Regions from separate parts of the Homo sapiens genome. Here all the other regions are linked to region 4. Evidence: promoter capture Hi-C in 16 types of primary human blood cells and fetal thymus (Javierre and others, 2016). All regions are on one chromosome and are shown on one strand. Each heading gives the region's core, a stretch centred on a gene start or on the middle of the fragment in contact. The rest is flanking DNA. Distances are from core to core; before and after follow the strand shown.

Region 1 (2,944 bases), core at 346-2,845, 250 kb after region 4:
TTGATTCTTTATAAAGAAATTATCTGATTTGCAAAGAAATAAGACAACTGCTTCAATTATAGCACTAGGCTAAAATATCCAAGTGCTTTTGGGACTTTCTTGTAAAATTTTATTCAGAGGGGGGGTTTTCCTTGTCATTTAGTTTTTGCAGCACACACACTCCATATTTAATCCACTATCTGCCTACAACCTAGTACTTAGCTATTATTCACATTCTCATGTGGGCATATACCCAACTTCTTACTCCATCAAACACTGGAATAAACGTTAATATATTAGGAAATTAGAAAAACGAAATGAACAGGAGGGAAAGCAAGTACATTTTCACACAAAGTACAGGATACAGCTGTGATCTGTCAAGCTTACAAGACTGTCTCCTTAGCTAACAGCAAAGCTACAGGACTATCTTCTCAGCTGAACAGGAAGTCGCAGTCTAAAAAACATAAATGTTCCCAAGCCTCAACTCTATTCCCTTCACTTCACATTTCTAGCATGCATTAACCCTTTGACCAAGCCTGTGTAATACACCCATTCAAGTAGCCTTGACGAGGTGTCAGCAAGTCTATGGATGACAAGTACTTTGAGAGTCCACAGAATAACCTTTCATCATGATGTCCCTAAATAAAAAGCCATGTGGGACTAATGTGTTTGGTTGTACTCTTCAGAATAAACAGGTTGTAGCAAGAAAGACAAAACCAACTTTGGCCTTTGAGAAATTCATACTTGTATGAATGATCTTTATTTATTTTTTATTTTTTTTGAGACAGAGTCTCGCTCTGTCACCCAGGCTGGAATGCAGTGGCACCATCTTGGCTCACTGCAACCTCCGCCTCCTGGGTTCAAGCGATCCTTCTGCCTCAGCCTCCCGAGTAGCTGGGACTACAGGCGCAAGCCACCACGCCCGGCTAATTTTTGTATTTTTGGTAGAGATGGGGTGTCTCTATATGGTGATAGTGGCCAGGCTGTTCTCGAACTCCTGACCTCGTGATCTGCCTGCCTTGGCTTCCCCAAGTGCTGGGATTACAGACACCTGCACCCGGCCTATTTATTTATGAGACAGAGTCTTGCTCACTTTGTCACCCAGGCTGGAGTGCAGCAGCGCGCACTCAGCTCACTGCAACCTCTGCCTCCCGGGTTCAAGCAATTCTCCTGCGTCAGCCTCCTGAGTAGCTGGGATTACAGGCATGCGCCACCACGCCCAGCTAATTTTTGTATTTTTAGTTTAGACAGGACTTCACCATTTTGGCCAGGCAGGCCTCAAACTCCTGACTTCAAGTGATTCAACTGCCTCAGCCTCCTAAAGTGCTGGGATTACAGGCATGAGCCACTGTACCCGGCCTGTATGGGTGATCTTTAGTTTTCCATTTCTGAAAGTGTTTCCATGGTACCAACATATAATTTAAAAAAATAGAATTTCCTTTATCTTTCATAGGATCCTGTGTCAGCTAACAGACAAGGCACCTAACCCAGGCCCAAGGTAATGGAGGTGAAAAGAGAGCACTTCACAATGGATCTAATGTAATTTTTAAGTGATTTATAAATTAAATGTCACTTATAAACTATAATTTTAAAAGATGAGAGTCAAGGAAAGAAGGAAGACAGTGTTGTAGGCACTGGGAAAACTTTTGCAACCAATGATAATTTAACAGTAATATGACAGATCCTTCCTACAGTTCCACTTTAGAATGGATTTGTGATACTGAAAAGAATCATGAGCTAGATACTTAGATGCTGATTAGAGGTGCCCAGGTACATCAGCAGATCATATTCCAAATGATAGTTCAACATACATAAAAGGCTCAATACAAAGGAAATAGTGATATCCTCAAATGGTGTGTTTAGAAAAGAGAGGAGGTGGTGAGCATTTTTTCCCCAAGAAAATGCTATAGAATTATTTTCAAATTAATACTCCTTTCAATGTCTTGATTTCCCAGCTTACCCTTTACATCAGAGGAGAGCACAGCACTGTTGCCACAGTCCTCACAAAGTACTATCACCGTGGGTATGATACACAAAGAATGGAGCTAACTCTCAAACAGGAAGTCACCATCTCGTCAATCAGATGGTACACATTAGAAATGAAAAGATCAGCAATATGTAGAAAGCAATAAAGAACATGTAGAATCGAGAGAAGGAATTCTGAGATCTTGCCCTTTTTCACAGGCGGCTCCACAGTTTATCAACAGCTGGGAAATTTCCTGTTCACAGGAAAAGGATGACTTCTTAGTTCACGTTAAAGTGGAAATGACAAAAACTGACTGCATCACACAGAAAAAAAGGTGTTTCCTGAAAAAAGGAGAGACAGAGTGCTGCCTTTATTTGCAAAAGAAATCTCCCTCCTCAAAAAATACACCACAAAAACCCAAAGTACAAAGGAAAAGCAAAATAGCATGCATATGGCAAGCCAAAAAAAAAAAAAATCTTCAGGAGATAAAGGAGAAAATAACTAAATCAAAGAAATATTTCATGGTAAGAGTTAGCTTCAGTGGGAAAATCATTTTGTCCCTGTGGGTTATTTTAAATGCAAATATGCATAAGGGAAATGATAGCATATTTCCACTTGATATTCATGCAAAGATTTTTATCTATAATTTTTGAAAATGATTATCTAGCATCAGCTTTTCTACATACATACACAAAAGAATCCATACTTCATCACTAACTTATCATTAGCTCCTATGGATTATTTCAAAGAATCACTGCTTGGTTTATTCTTTAAATTACAGTGATTCTTAAAAAGTATATTCTTTCATTGCAACAAAAAATATTTGTTGGGTGCCTACTGTTTACCATTTTACATGCTGGGGTCTCAGTGGAGAACAAGCTTCCTGCCTTCCTGGAGTTTTGCCTAGTTTTGTTTTATTGACTAGAGCAGTGGTTTTCAAACTTTACTGCAAATTAGAATCAGATGAAGAGCTTTAAAAAAATCCCAGTACCCAGACTG
Region 2 (3,035 bases), core at 9-2,508, 210 kb after region 4:
ATCATATTAAAAGAGTTGAGGGCTGTATTATGAAACAAAACAAACCTCAGAAAAATATCCTGTTGGGACCTAAAGAGTTAAGACAAGTATAATACACCAACTGAAATAAGTGGTAATAGAAATTGGTCTAATATAGATACTAAATAGAAATGCATGTATACATAAACATGTCTAAACTACAAAAGCAGTAATTTAATGAAACATTTTAAAGCAATCACAGAATTCCAGGTACTATGCTCTATACAGATTTTCTCATTTAATATCCTTTACAACTCTGGCCAGGTGTGGTGGCTCACGCTGGTAATACCAGCACTTTGGGAGGCCAAGGTGGGCGGATTACTTGAGGTCAGGAGTTGGAGACCAGCCTGGCAAATATGGTGAAACCCCATCTCTACTAAAAATGTAAAAATTAGCTGGGCATGGTGGCATGTGTCTGTAATCCTAGCTACTCAGAGGCTGGGGCAAGAGAATTGCTTGAACCCAGGAGGTGGAGGTTGCAATAAGCCAAGATTGCACCACTGCACTCCAGCATGGGTGACAGAGTGAGACTCTGTCTCTCCAGCCTCCAAGAAAAATCCTTCACAACTCTATGAAAAGGCGACCAGTATCCCCAACTTTATAGATAAGAAAACTGAGGGGTTTTTTTTTTCAGTTTAAAAAATAAAATTATATTTATTTAAAGTATACAACATAATGTTTCCCCACCCCTTTTATGTTAGGTTCAGGGGGTACATGTGCAGGTCTGTTACATAGGTAAATTGTACGGCATTGGGGTTTGGAGTACAAATGATTTCATAAGCCAAGTAAGTGAGCAGAGGACCTGATAGGCAGTTTTTCCGCCTTCACCCTCCTGCTACCTTCCCCACTCAAGTAGACCGGGTGTCTATTGTTCCCACCTTTGTGTCCATGTGTATTCAATGTTTAGTTACCATTATAGGTGAGAACATGCAGTATTTGGTTTTCTGTTCCTGTGTTAATTTGCTTAGGGTAATAGCCTCCAGCTGCATCCATGTTGCTGCAAAGGACATGATTTCATGTTTTTTTTATGGTTGCATAGTATTCGAAGGTATATATGTACCAAATTTTCTTCATTCAGACCACTGTTATGGACATCTAGGTGATTGATTCCATGTCTTTGCTATTGTGGATAGTGCTGCAATGAACATATTTGCGCTTGTGTCTTTTTGGTAGAATAATTTATATTCCTTTGGGTATACACCCAGTAAATGGGATTGCTGGGTTGAATGGTAGTTCTGTTTTAAATTCTGTGAGAAACCTCCTGCTTTCCACAGTGGCTGGACAGCAGTGTATAAGTGTTCCGTTTTCTCCACAACCTCGCCAACATCTGTTATTTTCTGACATTTTAATAACAGTCATCCTGACTGGTATGAGAAGGTATCTCCCTGTGGTTTTGATCTGCACTTCTCTGATGATTAGTGATGTTGAGCATTTTTCCATATGCATGTTGACTTGTGTGTATGTCTTCTGAGAAGTGGATGTTCATGTCCTTTGAGACTATTTTCTTAAGGGGTTGTTTACCTGTTGGGTTAAGTTCCTCATAAACTCTGGATATTACACCTTTGTTGGATGCATAGTTTGTAAATATTTTCTACCATTCTGCAGGTTGTCTGTTTTCTACGTTGATAGTTTCTTTTGCCGTGCAGAAGGCTCTTTAATTATGTCATACTAGTTTATTTTTGTTTTTTTGCAATTGCTTTTGGAGACTTCATCGTGAAATCCAGGTTTTCTCCTAGAGTTTATAGTTTTAGGTCTCACATGTAAGTCTTTGATCCATCTTGAGTTGAATTTTGTATATGGTGAAAGGAAAAGGTCCAGTTTCAATCTTCTGCATATGATGGCTAGTCAATTATCCCAGCACCATTTATTGAATAGGGAATCCTTTCCCCGTTGCTTGTTATTGTTGACTTTGTCAAAGATCAGATGGTTGTATGTGTGTGGCTTTATTTCTGGGTTCTCTAACCTGTTCCATTGGTCTATGTGTCTGTTTTTGAACCAGTACCAGGCTGTTTTAGTTACTGTAGTCTTGTAGTATAAAAACTGAGGTTTAATAAATTTGTCTCAGATTACCAAAGGTTCTTCTCACAAATAAGGAAATTACTCATGGTTATAGATCTTAACAGGCATGGTGGAGTTAGCCAAAAAATATGAGATGGCTCAAAGGACTATCATTTCCTAAAGATATATCCAGCCATTAGATCACTGACTTTATTTGGGGGAGGGGGGATGAAAATATTATATGATCACAATACTCAATACCAAAGTGGAAATAGTAAATATTCTAAAAGTAGCAATAAAATTTGCACAAAGTCTTCCATGGCTATCAAACCTACACATGTGGAAACCTACCTACCTCTCTGGCCTACTGCTGGAATTGTCAGATTGATCCGTATTATTCTTAAATTCCTGAACCCCGTTTTTGTTCTTTTGAAATGACTTGTTATCTTTAAAATAAAACTAAATTCTAAACCTCAATATAAAGTCCAGGAAATAATAAATCTATAGTTGTTTAGTAAAAGTTAGGACTGAGCCTTAGTTTAAAATCCAACTTAAAGTCAAGGGAAAAAACCCCCACAACAATAACAAAATAAAATAAAATAGTAACAGCAACCCACTGCGGTACTAAATGTTCTGTACTTAATGGAAGTTGATGTCTGACTAAGCAGTCATTTAAAAAAGATAAAATATGTGTCAATTGGAGGCCACAGCTAAGAGGGTGTTTCAGTTTCAAATTTTGTTTTACAAATAAAAATATAATATGAATTAATATAAACTCTTGGCAAACATGAGTCTCCTTGTGATTGTACAATTGGAACAAAGCAGTTAGATGTAGTCATAACACACACATTGTTCATAATGTAGGTGCAGAACAGTAAGTAAAAAAATGTCAAGTAGGGGCTGGGCATGGTGGCTCACACCTGTAATCCCAGCACTTTGGAAGGCCAAGGTAGGCGGACTGCCTGAGCTTAGGAGTTCAAGACAAGCCTTGGCAACATGGTGAAACCCCACCTCTACTA
Region 3 (2,959 bases), core at 217-2,716, 160 kb after region 4:
AGGTGTTCTATGGACAACTGTGGGAGTAGAGGACTGGATGACTCATGCAGCTGGCTCCTGAGTCCCCCAGATGATGACAGATTGGAGCTGCTACAGGTACGGTCCTAAGGAAGCCATTCTCTCCGGAAGCAGGTTGGAGGAGTGAACTGAGAGGTCATTATTTGGGTGGATGTGGCAAGACAAATCAGAGAGGCCTCTGACTCAGTGGCAAACGGCTATTGCCACAACCAGAGGGTTATGGAGGACGCCATGTGGAATCGAAGGTGTTTTGCCAGCATAAAATCATAGCCTCATTTTTTATAGGAGGAGGAAACACAGACCACTGTCTTCGATTCTCTTCTATTCAATTAGTGTTCTTGAGGTGCATCTTATAGTGACTCCTGGTAAGAGGGTGGCGGGGTTGGGGGCGGGGAAGGGCAGAGACATCACTGGAGCTAAATTTTTCTATAGTGAAACTGCCTCCCGATTGGAAAATTAGTTCACAGGAAACATGGGGCCATCTTCACAGCGAGTGTTTCAGTAGCACTTGGCCTTTGCTTATTCATCTTTGCTAGTCCTCAGGTAGGTTCTGGTGTGAAATATTAACTCATTCCTGCAGCCACTCTTACGTGGCTGTCTTGTTATCACACAGGGTTGCTTCCATTGTGAAAGCCATGTCAGGGCCCTTCCCTGTCTCTGCAGTGTGCCTCTCCCACAACGACTAGGGCCACTTGACCGACTTACCTGGCTGTGGTGTCCAGGACTAGTCCTAATGAGGCCAGCGGAACTGAGGTAGCTCTAGCTCCTGGCTCTGGGACTCACTGGGCACCAAGCCAAGCCTGTCCCCAGGCCAGTCCTGACCTTGTCTTGGCTCTGAGCACTGCCTGGCTTCTGGAATTCTGAGCAGTATTGTGTACCTCAGTTCTGATAACAGGATTCCCATCTGTCATTTTCCTTCTATCCGAGTTCCTGTCTTGAGGAACTGCTAACTATACCCAGGCCCCTTAAGCCTGAGGTCCTGCCATGATCTTGCCATTACCCCACAGGAAGTAGAGGAAGCGCTGCTCTTAGAGCTAAGCCTGTGGCTGGCACTCCTACACATGCTACTGGGCTTCTGCCATCCTGCTTTCTTACTCCAGAATCCTGACTGGGACTCCCACTTCCCTGATGCAGACCATTTACCAGACTACGCTTTTGGCCGATGGCTATGTTCTCGAGGCTCCATGTTTCACTGGCTGGGCTGGGCTTCCTACTAGCTCTCCAGCTCAAGCTGTTCCCCCAGTGCCTGACTTTGCTCAGTGAGTGGGTAGAATTCCTGAGCTTGCCCCACCCAGCCTGCCCTGTTCCTCTGCAGTTAATTGACCCATGCTCAGCTTGGCTTTGGCAAGTACATGTGCATATACCCTTGCTCAATATTAACTTAAAGGTCAAAATGGAGACACACGACCATACCTACATATCAAAAAATTTCATATTTTGAAAATATGTTCTAAAGTAAAACACTATTTTAAAAATAATTTAAAAACAAAACATCTCAATTACCACACAGGATATTTTAAATTAAATAATTTAAAAGGCTTAAGATACCCAAACATCCGGGTGCAGTGAGTCTTACCCCTCCCCGCGATGTGGACCAGTAGATAATATTTGGGATACAGTCTTGGTTATCCTAATAGCCTCAAATGACCTTTATTTCAGTTGAAACAATTGAAGCCAACATTTCCAAAACAGAAATCAGGTAGGAAGAAATGTTGAACTTTAACTCCTTAGTCCAGCAAACACCTTTGGAAGAGACTGCCTGTGCATGCCAACAAGCTGGCTGTATCTACATGTTCTCTCATAAAACTAGGAGCTCATCTACTCTGAAGTCAAAGTCTAGCAAGCCAGTTGCCACTGAATCCAACCTCTACAGCATTACTCAACAGGAAAGGGGTGAGTTATAGCACGCAACAACTACTTCCTCCCTAGCTCCTGCTTAGTGAAAATCTTCAGAAGCTATTGCTTTTGGAAAAAAAAAAAAAAACAATTAGTTTAGATCTTGACTGTCTATGAAAGAAAATGGTCTTCAAGGAAGGACAGAACACAGCCAGAAAACCATTGAGAAGAGTCTAGCAGAACTGTAGCTCCAGGTCCAGGCTGGGGACTGTCACTATATTTGTTTTATAAACCCAGAAAAGATAAGTCAGGAGTACCAGAGGGAAATCCAAAAGAGCCTGCCCTTTTTTTGAGATGGAGTCTCGCTCTGTTGCCAGGCTGGAGTGCAGTGGCACAGTCTCGGCTCACTGCAACCTCTGCCTCCCAGGTTCAAGCGATTCTCCTGCCTCAGCCTCCCGAGTAGCTGGGACTACAGGCGTGCACCACCATGCCCAGCTAATTTTTGTATCTTTAGTAGAGAGGGGGTTTCACCATGCTGGCCAGGATGGTCTCAATTCCCTGACTTCGTGATCCGCCCGCCTCGGCCTCCCAATGTGCTGGGATTACTTGGGCCCGGCTGAGTCTGCCTCTTAAGGCCTGCATTTTGCTGGGTGCAGTGGCTCATGCCTGTAATTCCAGCACTTTGGGAGGCCAAAGCAGGTGGATCAACTGCCAGGAGTTCCAGACCAGCCTGGCCAATACGGTGAAAACTTGTCTCTACTAAAAATACAAAAAATTAACTGGGCGTGGTGGTGGGCAACTGTAATCCCAGCTACTTGGGAGACAGGCGGGAGAATTGCTTGAACCTGGGAAGCGGAGGTTGCAGTGAGCCGAGATCATGCCACTGCACTCCAGCCTGGGCGCGACAGAGTGAGACTGTCTCAAAGAAAAAAATAATAATAAAGCCTGCATTTTATAACTGTACTACTTCCTAATTTCCATCCCTATCTGCTAGGATATGTTATATTGCTTTGGGAAATCCAAGTTTTTCTCAAAAATTTCAAGTCTAAATATCAATCTGAAGGGACACTGTTTGGTCTAAGAAGTCCAATTAACACTCTGCAAT
Region 4 (3,382 bases), core at 799-3,298:
TTTTTTTAAATAAACATGATTAAGTTTGAATGCAAATGTTTTAAGAAAAATCAGACACTGAAAGTAAATTTTGACACTTCAAAGGAAATAGTAATTCAGAAAGCCTATTTGAAGTATTGCTCTTAGTTTTGTCTGCTCCAGTTTTGTCTGGAGCAACACCGCATACAATTGTGAAAATTAAATGAACCTGTGTAAAGTGCTTAGAATGGTATCTGGCACATACAAACTGTTATTTCTTTGTGAAAATTAAAATTCAATATAGCTTTTCTTTATAAATGAATGTTGCATAGATAAAAACAATCCTAAAAACAATCCTGAAAAAATTATTAAGATGGTATAGAAATCTATGATGGAACTTATAATGAATATTTGCCTATTTTCTGATCTATGGGGTTCAGGAAAAGTTCTCATTTAAGAGATTTTTACACAATAAGGTTGACTTTATATTCAAGGAAGTTCCTCCTCGCATCGGTTCTTAAAACACACAATTACAATAACAGAAGTTCTCTAAAACTACATTTTATTTTAAACGAATATTTATTTAAAAGCACATGCTTTCTGTTTTGTCTGCCTTCTTAATTCTAGCTACACACTGCTGCCCTCTGCTGCAATTTCAATCTTTCACACTCACAAACCCGACCTAGTTTCCATCTATACAGGTTATCTGACTCACTGCAAGGGTTATGTGTGTGTGTGTAGAGAACAAAAGGGAAGGCTCCTTGAAAAGAAAACTAGGAACTAAAGATGTTGGCACAGTTCAAAAGAGCCCATCTGAGAAGTGGGCCTTTTTTTTTTTTTTTGAGACGGAGTTTCACTCTTGCTGCCCAGGCTGGAGTGCAATGGCACGATCTCGGCTCACCGCAACCGCCGCCTCCAGGTTCAAGCGATTCTCCTGCCTCAGCCACCCGAGCAGCTGGGATTACAGGAATGCACCAACATGCTCGGCTTTTTGTTGTTGTTGTTGTTGTTGGTTTTTTTTTTTTGTATTTTTAGTAGAGACGGGGTTTCTCCACGTGGTCGAGCTGGTCTCGAACTCCTGACCTCAGGTGATCCGCGAGAAGTGGGCCTTTTTATGGATCCAGCAACAAACTCCCAACCTCCCAGGAAAGGTTGCTTCCTGTCATCTATATAAAACTTTGTGTCTCAGGCCTTTATTGCTTTTTTAATTGAAATAAATTATATATATATGGTTTAAAAAAAAAAGAAAAGGAAAAAGGGTAAACAGCAAAGAGGGTAATCAATAAAACATTTGGCTTCCACTCCAAACCTCTGAACAGTTTTGTGTATCCGTCCAGAAAGCGTATATATTATTACAAACATACACAAGGGGCATTTCTTTTTGAACACAAATGTGAGTATTCCTACCACTCTTTACCATTCTAGACTAACTTGGACGTTGTTCCCTATCAGGCGAGATTAACCCAACTAAATTAAAACCAAGTAGGTTTTAACAAAACAGATTTTAAAGAAATCAATCTTCTCTCCAATAGGTTATTTCTGTCACGATTTAATTAGCTTTCTGTTACTACTAAGGCTTGTATCATATAAAGTAGTGGTTCTCAGGCTGGGCGCGGTGGCTCACGCCTGTAATCCTAGCATTTTGGGATGCCGATGCAGGAGGATAGCTTGAGCCCAGGAGCTGGAGACCAGCCAGGGCAACGTAAAGAGAGCCCCCACCAACACCCCCCGCCACCCACCACCACCGCCCCGGAAAAGCAGTGGTTCTCAAACGTCAGCGGACATTGGTATCATCTGGTGAGCTTATTAAAACAAGAGTCTCTGGATTCAGGAGGTCTGGGGTGGGGCTTGAGAATTTGCATTTCCAATAAATTCCAAGCCGGAACTCCAGGAAGATAACCTGCATTCCGCGCCTGGCGAAGCCCAGCTACGCCATTTCCTTCCTAGGCCCCGCCTACTTCGTGTCCCTGACAGCCAGGGACTGGCTAGAGGGCGCGCGGAGTCACGTGAGTCGAGCGACCTCGCGCGAGAGTTTGTATTTCTCGCGAGACTTCACCGTCTCTGTCTTTTCCTCCTTCCAGTGCCCGGCGTTCCTCCCTTCCCCCTCGCCGCCGACCGAGTTCTTCCTTTTCAGACCGGGTCGCCTTGCTGTCGTCGCGGTGATTTTCCTGCTACTGCTACTGCTGCTGCTGCCACCGCCACTACCACTGGGCTCATTTGCCCCGACCCCTTCCCGCCGCCCCGCCCCCAGCCCCACACAAGGTAACAACCCCCCTGAGGGAGAGAGTAAGGCCTGGCCGGGCCCGGGTCCCTCCCGAGGTGAAGCGGAGGCCCAAGGCTGAGGAGCCCGCCTCGCCGGAGACGCCCAGGCGCTGGCCCTGGATCCCGGAGCCACGGCCGTCTCTCAGCCAGAGCTGAGCCTCGGCGGCCCGGCCGGCGCTGGCCTCCGTGCGGCGGCGGCAAACACGGCCCGCAGGGGACCGGGTCGGGTGGGGCTGGGCGCCGCGCGGCTCCCTGTGGAGCCTGCCTGTTGGAGCGCGGCGGGGCTCCGGCGGTGGTCTTGGAGCTGGCGTGTGGATTTCCACGTCCGAATGATCGAGTTGTGGCGGGCTTTGAGGTGCTGCGTGGCGGGGAGGAGAGCAGCCTGGGTCGCTGTAACTCTTAGGGGGCCTTTGCAGGCTCCCAGCCTTTGGTTGGACGGGAATTTTACGAAGGAGAAGGGTCCTCGGAAACGTGGTACATTTGCTTATAAACCATCAAAAAAGGTTAATTGGTATCTTATTTTCAGGAAAATGACTGAGCTGGATTTGGCGAAAGGCACATTCGTTAGAATGCCTAAATGGGAGAGTACCTGTGCTGTTCTTTTTGCTGAAGATAATGCACCGATAAATATTTAAGCGACTGGGCGAAAGATTTTTGTTTTGGAGAGGCACTTTTAAATACACTCTTAATTGAATAGTTCAAGTAAAGATCGTAGTTTGTGTAGTTAATTTAAAAACGCACTTGTTTGGCTTTGGAAGCATACTGTAGTGCTTAAAAATAAGTATTTGGATTGTTTTTGAAAGTTTCGACTTTTCCAACAGAGTAGTGCTTTTTAAAAAGATAACACTGATTATTGAGCCGAATTCAGCACCTACCCTGTGGATAGGAGTTAAAAGAAAATTAGAAATTTCTTTGTATCTGTATGCTTTTTTAAAGTATGGAATGTATCTCAAGTTTATAATCCTCAGAATCTGTTGCCTTTAAGTTTGTGGTTTAGCTGAAGTCTAAACTGAGAGTAAAGGTAATGGTGGTAAATTAAGCTGCAGTGTTAGAAGGAGTTAGAGGCAAAAACTGGTAATTCAGGCAGACAGGGGAGTTAGTTTTTTATGCCTTGATTTTTGGTTTAGTTTTCATGGTCTAACCCTTTTTATTTTCCCTAGAT
Region 5 (3,410 bases), core at 36-2,535, 140 kb after region 4:
GTTTTGCTCCAAAGTGCTTCTGCGGTCAAACAAGTTTGGGAAAGGATACACGGGATAGCCACATCTGACATGTCCCAGTGCTTTTAGCATATTTAAGGCTCCGAGAAGGTCTGCAGTGAAGGTACCTGGTTAACTCTGTTAATCCTGCCTTTCCCAGACTTTTCTTTTTTTTTTTTTTTGACCAGAGAGTCAGTTTGGGGAGTAAGCCACTTACTTCCTCATGGGAAGTTTGGTGTTCCCCAGAAACCAGTCAGAGCCTGATTGCTTCACATTCTCCTTTGCGAATCCTCACCCACCGGTGTCCCTGTGAGGTTAGGAAGAGGGATGCTCTGTGGGAGGACTGTTGGAACAGACAGTTCACTTACCTGTCTGATCTCCCACATCAACTTGGGGCCAGAGTTGGCCAGAGCCGGGCCAGAGCCAGGCTTCCTCCCTCACCATCACATGGGGGAGCCCTTGGGCAGTGCCATTGATCCTAAGGGGCCACTTTCCTGATGGCACGAGGAAACGCCTCCCCACTGAGCTGCATGCAAGAACAGCAGAAGGGTGTGGGCACCAACAGCTGCCCTCTGCATCACCTCCAGGGTGCCGAGTATCCCAGGAGTTCAAAGCTCAGCCTGAAGAATCTTTAGTTCCTCAACCTCCCTGGGGGCAAGAAAGGAATGGGAACTGATCATCCCCACACTTCCGCTTCTGAACAGAGGTAAAGTAACTCACACAGTAATTCTGCAGGAAAAATAGCCACCCGTGACTTCCAGTTCCTGTTGTAGCTCAGGTCAAACTTGGCTGAAGAACATGTATTCAAGTTTGTGAAACAACTCTGCTGGTTTCTTTTATTAATTTTTTTTGAATATGCATTTATTTCTCTGGATACAAAAGAGACATGGGGATGTACGATAAACATTTCTCTCCTATCCCTTGCCAAATCACCCAGTTTCTCCCTGGAGTCAACCAAATGTACTAGTATCTAGTATCTATGCAAACACTCCTTTTCCCTACACACACACACACACACACACACACACACACACACATGAGCGCACACGATAAACAAATTAACATACTTTGAACACTGTCTGCACCTTATTTTTATTTATTTATTTATTTTTTTGAGACAGGGTCTCGTTCTGTCGCCCAGGCTGGAGTGCAGTGGTGCAATCTCCGCTCACTGCAACCTCCGCCTCCCGGGTTTGGAGATTTTCCTGCCTCAGCCTCCTGAGCAGCTGGACTACAGGCGCGCACCACCACACCCAGCTAATTTTTGTATTTTTAAGTAGAGACGGGGTTTCACCATATTGGCCAGGCAGGTCTTGAACTCCTGACCTCATGATCCACCCATCTCAGCCTCCCAAAATGCTGGGATGACAGGTGTGAGCCACTGAGCCTGGCCTCTGCACCTTATTTTTTAACTTAATGATGGATCTTAGAGATCATTCCTTATTAGTACACACAGAGCTTTCTCATTCTTTTTTACTGCTATATAAATTATGGTCCTTTATGGATGCAGCATAATTAGGCCCCCACTGATGAACACAGATTACCTCCAGAGTTTTTTGTTATGAACAGTGCTGCGGCAGATAACCACGTACTTAAGTCGTGGTGCACATGTGTGCGTGTGTATGTAGGGTAAAGTTCTAGAAGTGGAATTGCCGGGTCAAAGCACAGGCACTTCTTTAGGTGGTGCTGAGTACTGCCTGGTGCCCCTGCTCTGGCGGCTGGGATCCCAGGAAGAGGAGACGAGGGTTTTTCCTTTCTCGTTGGATGTTTAATCCAAGGCAGCTTCACACATTGACACCGGACACAGGAAACACGAAGTGTAGTCCTGACCTGTCTTTGCATGTCAATCTCCATTTGCACCAGCACCATTTGTTGAAAAGACTCTTATTTTCACCATTGAATGGTCCTGGCATCCTGGTTGATAACTGATTGACAGTTGGGCATGGTGGTTCACGCCTATAAATCCCAGCACTTTGGGAGGCCGAGGTGGGAGGATCGCTTGAGCCCGGGAGATTGAGACCAGCCTGGACAACATAGTGAGACACTGTTTTTAAGGGAAAAAAAAAAAAGAAAATCAATTGACCACAACTGTGAGAGTTATTTCTGGTCCCTCATTTCTATTCCATTGATCTCTATGTCTATATCTTTAGACAAGTACCACACTGTCTTAATTACTGTAGCTTTGTAGTACGTTTTAAAATTGAGAAGTATGAATCTTCTATTTTTCTATTCAAAATTGTTTTGGCTATTCTGGGTTCCTTGCGCTTTCACATGCATTTTACAAGCATTCCACATTCATTTGATCAGCTTATCAACTTCTACAAAGAAGTCAGTTGGAATTTTGATAGGATTGCATTGAATCTGTTATATCAATTTTGGGAATATTGCCATCTTAGCAATATTAAGCCTTCCAATTCACAACTATGTGTTGTTGTTCCATTTATTTAGGTCTTCTTCAATTTCCTTCAACAATATTTTACAGTTTTGAATGTACACATCTTGTACTTCTGTTAAATTTATGCTTAGGTACTTTATTCCTTTTGATACTACTAGATGTGAAATAGTTTTCTAAATTCTATTTTTGAAACTTTAATTGCTAGCATATGGATATAGAATTAATTTTTATATGCAGATCTTATATTTTGAAATATTACTGAACTTGTTTATTAGCTCTAATAGCCTGGTGCTTGGGGGTAGATATCTTAGTATTTTCTATATAAAAGATTATTTGTCAACAGAGATAGTTTTACTTCTTCTTTTCCAAACTGGCCTTTTATTTCACTTTCTTGCCTAATTTCCCTGGCTAGCCCCTCCAGCACAATGTTGAATAGAACTGACAAGAAGAGGAGACACCCTTGTCTTGTTCATGATCTTAGGGGAAAGCTTTCAGTCTTTTACCATTAATTATGATGTTAGTTGTTAACTATGCAATTTTAAGTTTTCTAGTAGCCACAATTTTAAAACATAAGAGTAAATGGTAAAATTAATTTTACAAATAAATTTTATTTAACCCAATATATCAAAAATATTTCAGCATGTAATTATTATAAAATATTAACGAGATTTTTACTTTGCATACTAAGCCTTTGAAATCTGATGTGTGTTTTATACTTTCAGCATATCTCAAACTCCTGACCTCAATTGATCCACCCGCCTCAGCCTCTCAAAGTGCTGGGATTATAGGCGTGAGCCACTGTGCCTGGTCCTTTTAGCATATCTTAATTCAGAGTAGCTACATTTTTGGAGGGGGGTGGCGGTGGGGAGTAGCTACATTTTAAGTGCTATTCTCTACTGTATTGGACAGCACAGATCTAGAACATGGCTGGCTCAAAACAAGAAGAGCTAATGTTTACTGAACACTTCCCATGGGCTAGGGACTCTTCTAAACTTTTTCACATATTAACTAAATTAAT
Region 6 (3,389 bases), core at 145-2,644, 180 kb after region 4:
ATTTAGGCAGAAGCCATCAGCTCATTATCTTAATTTAATTAAGCTTTTCATAGCCCCATTTGAGAAGAGGAGGAACCATTAAAGCAAAAATAAGTTGATTGTTAGGACAAGTTAATGTTGGTAGAAAAAGTTTTTTTTTAGTTGTTCTTTTCCCCCTTTCTTGTGGCCCTTCCAATAAATTAAGATTATTACCATTTGCTTCATGAGAATTTGCTTTATTTATTTATTTATTTATTGAGGACTGAGTTTCACTCTTGTTGCCCAGGCTGGAGTGCAATGGCACGATATCGGCTCACTGCAAACTTCGCCTCCCGGGTTCAAGCGATTCTCCCGCCTCAGCCTCCCAAGTAGCTGGGATTACAGGCACATGACACCACGCCCTGTTAATTTTGTATTTTTAGTACAGACGGGGTTTCTCCATGTTGGTCAGGCTGGTCTCGAACTCCTGACCTCAGGTGATCTACCCAGCTCAGCCTCCCAAAGTGCTGGGATTACAGGCATGAGCTACCGTGCCTGGCCAAATCTGCTTGATTTAAAGAGAAAATTAGGGCCTTTAGTTTAATTAGATCCCATTTGTCAATTTTGTCTTTTGTTGCCATTGCTTTTGGTGTTTTGGACATGAAGTCCTTGCCCATGCCTATGTCCTGAATGGTAATGCCTAGGTTTTCTTCTAAGGTTTTTATGGTTTTAGGTCTAACGTTTAAATCTTTAATCCATCTTGAATTGATTTTTGTATAAGGTGTAAGGAAGGGATCCAGTTTCAGCTTTCTACATATGGCTAGCCAGTTTTCCCAGCACCATTTATTAAATAGGGAATCCTTTCCCCATTGCTTGTTTTTCTCAGGTTTGTCAAAGATCAGCTAGTCGTAGGTATGTGGCGTTATTTCTGAGGGCTCCGTTCTGTTCCATTTATCTATATCTCTGTTTTGATACCAGTACCATGCTGTTTTGGTTACTGTAGCCTTGTAGTATAGTTTGAAGTCAGGTAGTGTGATGCCTCCAGCTTTGTTCTTTTGGCTTAGGATTGACTTGGCGATGCGGGCTCTCTAGTTCAACCATTGTGGAAGTCAGTGTGGCGATTCCTCAGGGATCTTGAACTAGAAATACCATTTGACCCAGCCATTCCATTACTGGGTATATACCCAAAGGACTATAAATCATGCTGCTATAAAGACACATGCACACGTATGTTTATTGCGGCATTATTCACAATAGCAAAGACTTGGAACCAACCAAATGTCCAACAATGATAGACTGGATTAAGAAAATGTGGCACATATACACCATAGAATACTATGCAGCCATAAAAAATGATGAGTTCATGTCCTTTGTAGGGACATGGATGAAATTGGAAATCATCATTCTCAGTAAACTATCACAAGAACAAAAAACCAAACACCGCATATTCTCACTCATAGGTGGGAATTGAACAATGAGATCACATGGACACAGGAAGGGGAATATCACACTCTGGGGACTGTGGTGGGGTGGGGGGAGGGGGGAGGGATAGCATTGGGAGATATACCTAATGCTAGATGACGAGTTGGTGGGTGCAGCGCACCAGCATGGCACATGTATACATATGTAACTAACCTGCACAATGTGCACATGTACCCTAAAACTTAAAGTATAATTAAAAAAAAAAGAAAAAGAAAAAGAAAATTAGGGCCTTTAAATACATTCAACATCTCTGATGAAAAAAATGATTAATAAATATCCAACCTCTCATCATAATGAGGCTGTGGAATTGTTGAAAACTGCAATTTCATATAACTTCTGGACCTAGTCAAACTTTTTACAAAAGTGACCACAACACATTTGATTCTTGATTTGCAGCTGTTTTTCTTCCTTAATTAGTACCACCACTACAGGGTGAAAACAGAAATATGCAATTGTACTAACTTAAAAAGCAGGATTGTAGGGAAAATGATGTTTATGAGGCCCTTAGATTGTGTGTGAGAAAATTTTAATTTCCTTTACTCCTATTTTCAATTCAAGAGATAACTGAGTTGAAAACCCTGCCTACATAAGTAGAGCAGAACTTCTCTTAAAAGACAAAAAGCCACTAACTAATATGTATTTGCAAATAAGTACACAAAATCCAACTAAACGAGCAAATAACAAAGCAATTAAAAAAGGGGAATAATGTTTCCTACCTGAATCTCACAGGCTAGTTGCACATTAAAAATATAATGAAAAGCCTCCTCTAATGTTTCTCCAAGTGCAACCACACCATGATTCCTGAGTACCAGCACCTAAAATAGAATGCCCACAGCAATCACTTGAAATAACTGGCATAGCTCACACTGTTTTCATCAACAGCAGCAGCAACAAAAATAGCTCCTTAGACAAACTCTACTACATACCTTACAACTTGGTCCCAGAACCTTCTGCAGTTGAATTCTCTCCTCCTGTTCTTCAAGTGACCCTTGGTAGTCATAATAGGCAACATCTCCCAGAAGAAGAGACTCTTGAGAAATTGGAAGGATCCCACATTTCATGGAGGATACCTATTTGGTTTGGCCCATACCAAGATAACACATTTGGTTACTAAATACATTTTCATAGGAACCTGATTGTTTGGTCAGCTCAGGAAAACACTGGCCTATTCACTGTGTTTCACCATTGCAGCCCACTTCCCACTTTATTCACTTCCCATTTTGTTTCTTCCACACACACACAAAAAGGACTTAGGGAATACAACTCAACTTATATGCTGTGTCAAATATTATGAAAGAAGCTTTGCTCCAAAAAACTCAATGACCCAATTTTCAAACTGGTTAGTTTTAGAATCCAAATGTTATTTCTCCAGTTGTTTCCTAGAATGGTAGCATTTGGTCCCAAAGGCCTTTTGCTTTCTGGGTATGCAGATTATTGTATCAAATATGATTTTGAAAAGCAGATAGTAAAGCATCCTGTTGAGAAAGCCACAAAAATAATACATCTTCCAGCGTCCTGTCAGTTTTGGACTTTCATTGACTTACAGCTGCTGTTGCAAGGGTATGGATGTGTATCACACACTTAACATCAGGACGTGTTGAATAGATTGCAGCATGGGGACTGAATCCTGTATGGTCAATTTTCAAATTGGTACTTCCCTGGTCAACCACTTCTCCTATTATATTGACTTTCACCTGGAAAAAATCAGAAGGACATATTTAACTGGTATATACGTATCAAAGTTTGTGTTTCACAAGCTAAACCAGGGGGTAGCAAACCTTTTTGTAAAAGGTCAGATAGCAAATATTTTGGACTTTGTGGGCCTCTGCTGCAATTACTCAAATCTGCAGCTGCAGTACAAAAGCAGCCATAAACAATCTGTAAGTTAACAGGTATAGCTTTGTTCCCATAAAACTTTATTTATAAAACAGGTGCAACAAAACTTGGTA
Region 7 (3,243 bases), core at 635-3,134, 170 kb before region 4:
TGCAAAGTGCTGAGATTACAGGCATGAACCACTGCACCCTACTATCACCCAGGGTTCTAAGCCCCCTGCCCTGTGGAGCTTACCAGAAAGGCCTTGTATTTGAGTTCTCAACTTTACCTTCTTTTTGGCATATTCTTTCTTCCTGGGCTGTGAGGTCCTGGAAGTAGTAAGGCTGGCTTCTTACCATCTGTCTTCCGTAAAGCAGCACATAGTAGGCTCAATAAATTCAAGGAGGGCTGATTTATATGCATTCAGATCTCAGACTTCTGTGAATATAAATCAAGGACCATAATTTTTTTTCTCTAAATTGCATTCATTGGTATTTAATTTATTGAGCATCTAATGTGTGCCAGGCACTGGCTCAGGTACTAGGAATTCTGTGGTAAACAAGGTAAATGAGTTCCCTGCTCTCTAGGGCTTCCTTCTAGTGGGGAAGACAGGTAACATACAAACTCTTAGCAAAGCCAGCTTGACTGTGGTGGCTGGGGAAGATGGAGAACAAATAGAACTGGAGGCCAGAGGGGCCTCTCTGAGAAGGTGTCATCTGAACTGACAACGGATTAATCAAAATGAGCCAGCTGTGTCTGAATCAGGGAAAGGGCATTCCAGTCCTGAGACAGGACCACTGTGGCCTGTCTGAGGATTCACAGATGCAGCTATGGCTGGAACTTAGTGGACAAGAGAGAGAGGTCAGAGATGAGCTGGGAGATGTTGGCAAGGCCAGATTATGCAGGGCCTTCCTCATAGACCATGGTGAAGAGATTAGAGTTGGTTCTAACCGAGGTGGGAAATCAGTGGAGGGTTTTATGCAGGGTGATGATGAAAGATCCCCAGCTGCTTGGAGAATGGACTGTAGGGAGGACAGAGTGGAGGCAGAGACCAGTTAGGAAATTACTGCCATGGTCATGGTGACAGGTGATGGGGTCTTGGACAAAGATAATAGAAGAGGAAGCTGAGAGATGTAGACAGACAAGACCTTCAGATGTAGTGGATGTGGCAGGGGTGGGGCATGAGGGAAAGAGGAATCACGAAGGATGCCCTGGTTTGGATTAGGTAGATGGGGGTGTCATTGTCTGAGATGGGGAAGGTAGAGGAAGAACAGGTTTGGGTGGTGAGATTGAGCATTCTGGTGTGCTCCTGGGCCAAATAATGTCCTCGAAAGATGGCACGTGTGAATATATGACCTCACATGGCAAATCTGATTAAGTCAAGAATTTTGAGTTGGGAGATTATCCTGGAGGACCCAATGTAAACACAAGGGGCCTTATAAATGTAAAAGGGAGGCAGGAGAGTCAGCGTGCTTCGATGTGAGAAGGAATCAACCTGCCATTGCTTTGAACTGGCTTTGAAGGTGAAGGAAGGGAACCCCGAGGTGAGGAATTAAGACATCCTCTAGGAACTGGGAAAGGTAAGGAAATGGTTTCTCCCATCGAGACTCTAGAAGGGACACAATCTTGCTGACACCTTGCTTTTAGCCCAGAGAAAACCCAATTAGGACTTCTTACCTCCAGAACTGTGAAATCATGCATTTGTGTGGTTGGTTTTAAGCCACTAAGTTTGTCGTCATTTGTTACGGAAGCAATAGGAAATGGACACATTGGCCTTACGGACGTCCAGGTGGAAAGACAGGTGGGCAGCAGGCAGGCTGTACTGGCCAGAGCCCAGGGTAGAGGCTGGCACTGGAATCCTGAGAGCATTCAGCCTACAGTTGGAACTTAAATCTGAGAGGCTTCGAATCACCTCAGGGCCCAGAGTGAGCTGCAGGGCCCGTGATTAATTCCTGTCCTCTCTGCCGGATACAGGCAAACTTTGGCAGCTGGCTTTTCTCTCCTAAGTAGAGAATCTTTAGCTTGGCCTAAGGGTCTTGGGTGGGGCCTGAGCTGGATGGGCCTGCCCTGAGTGAAAGTCCAAAGACCCTGTCACTCTGAGGGACACTCCCATCAGGCTGTCTCAGATGCCTCCAGGCTAGGTGGGGAGGAAAATGGGAGAGTGACGGAAATGTTTATTATGTTTATTTAGCTCCTACTAAGTCACAAGCACCAAATTAGAGACTTTTTATCTGTGGTTTTAAACCTTACAATAACCCTGGCAGGGAGCTGTAAGCCCCATTTGTGAATAGGTAAACTGAGGCTCAGAGGGATCAGATTACTTCTTTAAGATAACACCAGCAGGACGGCCAGCATAGTGGCTCATGCCTCTAATCCCAGCACTTTGGGAGGCCAAGGCAGGCAGATTGCCTGAGCTCACGAGTTCAAGACCAGCGTGGGCAACATGGCAAAACCCCGTCTTTACAAAAAATACAAAAATTGCTGGGCATGGTGGTGTGAGCTTGTAGTTCCAGCTACTCGAGAGGCTGAGGTGGGAGGATGGCTTGAGCCCGGGAGCTGGAGGTTGCAGTGAGCTGAGACTACACCACTGCACTAGAGCCTGGGCAATAGAGCCAGACCTTGTCTCAAATAAAAAACAAAAAATAAAAAATAAAAATAACGCCAGCAGGGAACTGAAGATCCAGGAATCCACCAAGTTTGAATGAGCTTTAGATGTCCCCAGGGTGCTGCTCTTTCTGCCATGCCCCTCTTCTTGGCTGAGGACTATTTGAGAGTGTTTTTTACCAAAATAGCAACAATGCCTTCCATTCATTGACCTGTCCCCCTTTCCCTTAGTTATGCATTTAATCTTCACACCAACCTCATTGTTAGTTTTTTTTTTTTTTTCATTTTACAGATGCAGATGCTGTGGCTCAAAGGATTAATTAATTTGCTTAAGATAATGCAACATGAGAAAAGCAGATCAGGACGGAATTCCAGAACAAGGATTTTGCTTGAAATAACATCACTACTAATTGTCTCTCTGCACCTCCTGGCTCATTTCTCTACTCCCACACCTTCCCTGCTGACCCTAGTCAAGGAGCTGTGAACATACAAATAGTGCCTGATACACTAGGGCCTCGGCATTGGCCATGGGAGTGAGGGAGAAAATCATTTAAGAGGCTTTGTAGTCGATTTCAACAAAGAAGGCAATGCCAGTGAAGCATCTTGCAGGAATCCCTCCCTGACTGCTTCAGTCCACAGCGCTCTTACCTTTCTCTATACACTTACAATCTGTTTCATTTACTTCCTAGCAGACCTTGCAGAAACCATTATTTCATATGATACGTTTCCCCCATAGAATATAAGCTCCTTAAGGGAAGAGATTTTTGCTTGGTTTTATAATGCTGAATTCCAAGTGCCTAGAAAGGGCCTG

Evidence for each region. Contacts are between HindIII fragments. The CHiCAGO score rates a contact against its expected background, and 5 or more counts as called.
Region 1: a contact is called between a fragment that was not itself captured here and the fragment with the promoter of SMNDC1 in region 4, in 2 of 17 cell types (neutrophils and monocytes). The highest score is 8.3, in neutrophils.
Region 2: a contact is called between a fragment that was not itself captured here and the fragment with the promoter of SMNDC1 in region 4, in 1 of 17 cell types (neutrophils). The highest score is 5.0, in neutrophils.
Region 3: a contact is called between a fragment that was not itself captured here and the fragment with the promoter of SMNDC1 in region 4, in 16 of 17 cell types (neutrophils, naive CD4 T cells, total CD8 T cells and 13 more). The highest score is 23.0, in neutrophils.
Region 5: a fragment that was not itself captured here is called in contact with the fragment with the promoter of SMNDC1 in region 4 in 4 of 17 cell types (neutrophils, monocytes, activated CD4 T cells and 1 more); the score reaches 12.1 in neutrophils.
Region 6: a fragment that was not itself captured here is called in contact with the fragment with the promoter of SMNDC1 in region 4 in 14 of 17 cell types (neutrophils, M2 macrophages, total CD8 T cells and 11 more); the score reaches 18.6 in neutrophils.
Region 7: a contact is called between a fragment that was not itself captured here and the fragment with the promoter of SMNDC1 in region 4, in 3 of 17 cell types (activated CD4 T cells, total B cells and naive B cells). The highest score is 7.0, in activated CD4 T cells.

Annotation. Positions count from the first base shown.
Region 1 is chr10:110,057,585-110,060,528 of GRCh38, reverse strand. The region is part of intron 1 of ADD3 (adducin 3); the gene reads right to left. Among named protein-coding and RNA genes, the nearest start is that of ADD3-AS1, 51 kb to the right of the region's middle. RefSeq lists enhancers at 344-453, 504-563. The HindIII fragment of the contact is 2,463 bases long and covers 364-2,826 here.
Region 2 is chr10:110,090,400-110,093,434 of GRCh38, reverse strand. The region is part of intron 1 of ADD3 (adducin 3); the gene reads right to left. Among named protein-coding and RNA genes, the nearest start is that of ADD3-AS1, 84 kb to the right of the region's middle. The HindIII fragment of the contact is 5,983 bases long and covers 1-3,035 here.
Region 3 is chr10:110,140,273-110,143,231 of GRCh38, reverse strand. No RefSeq gene overlaps it. Among named protein-coding and RNA genes, the nearest start is that of MXI1, 66 kb to the left of the region's middle. The HindIII fragment of the contact is 5,462 bases long and covers 1-2,959 here.
Region 4 is chr10:110,303,586-110,306,967 of GRCh38, reverse strand. SMNDC1 (survival motor neuron domain containing 1) reads left to right here and starts at 2,048. Exons shown (of 6, transcript NM_005871.4): 1 at 2,048-2,220; 2 at 3,381-3,382. The coding sequence starts at 3,381. RefSeq lists a silencer at 2,217-2,536. The HindIII fragment of the contact is 6,895 bases long and covers 1-3,382 here.
Region 5 is chr10:110,160,092-110,163,501 of GRCh38, reverse strand. No RefSeq gene overlaps it. Among named protein-coding and RNA genes, the nearest start is that of MXI1, 46 kb to the left of the region's middle. The HindIII fragment of the contact is 3,194 bases long and covers 1-2,882 here.
Region 6 is chr10:110,118,332-110,121,720 of GRCh38, reverse strand. It overlaps ADD3 (adducin 3), which reads right to left. Exons shown (of 15, transcript NM_016824.5): 6 at 2,985-3,134; 7 at 2,367-2,510; 8 at 2,157-2,255. Among named protein-coding and RNA genes, the nearest start is that of MXI1, 88 kb to the left of the region's middle. The HindIII fragment of the contact is 2,697 bases long and covers 46-2,742 here.
Region 7 is chr10:110,474,708-110,477,950 of GRCh38, reverse strand. It overlaps DUSP5-DT (DUSP5 divergent transcript), which reads left to right. Exons shown (of 2, transcript NR_187547.1): 2 at 2,725-3,243. Among named protein-coding and RNA genes, the nearest start is that of DUSP5-DT, 20 kb to the left of the region's middle. The HindIII fragment of the contact is 7,252 bases long and covers 1-3,243 here.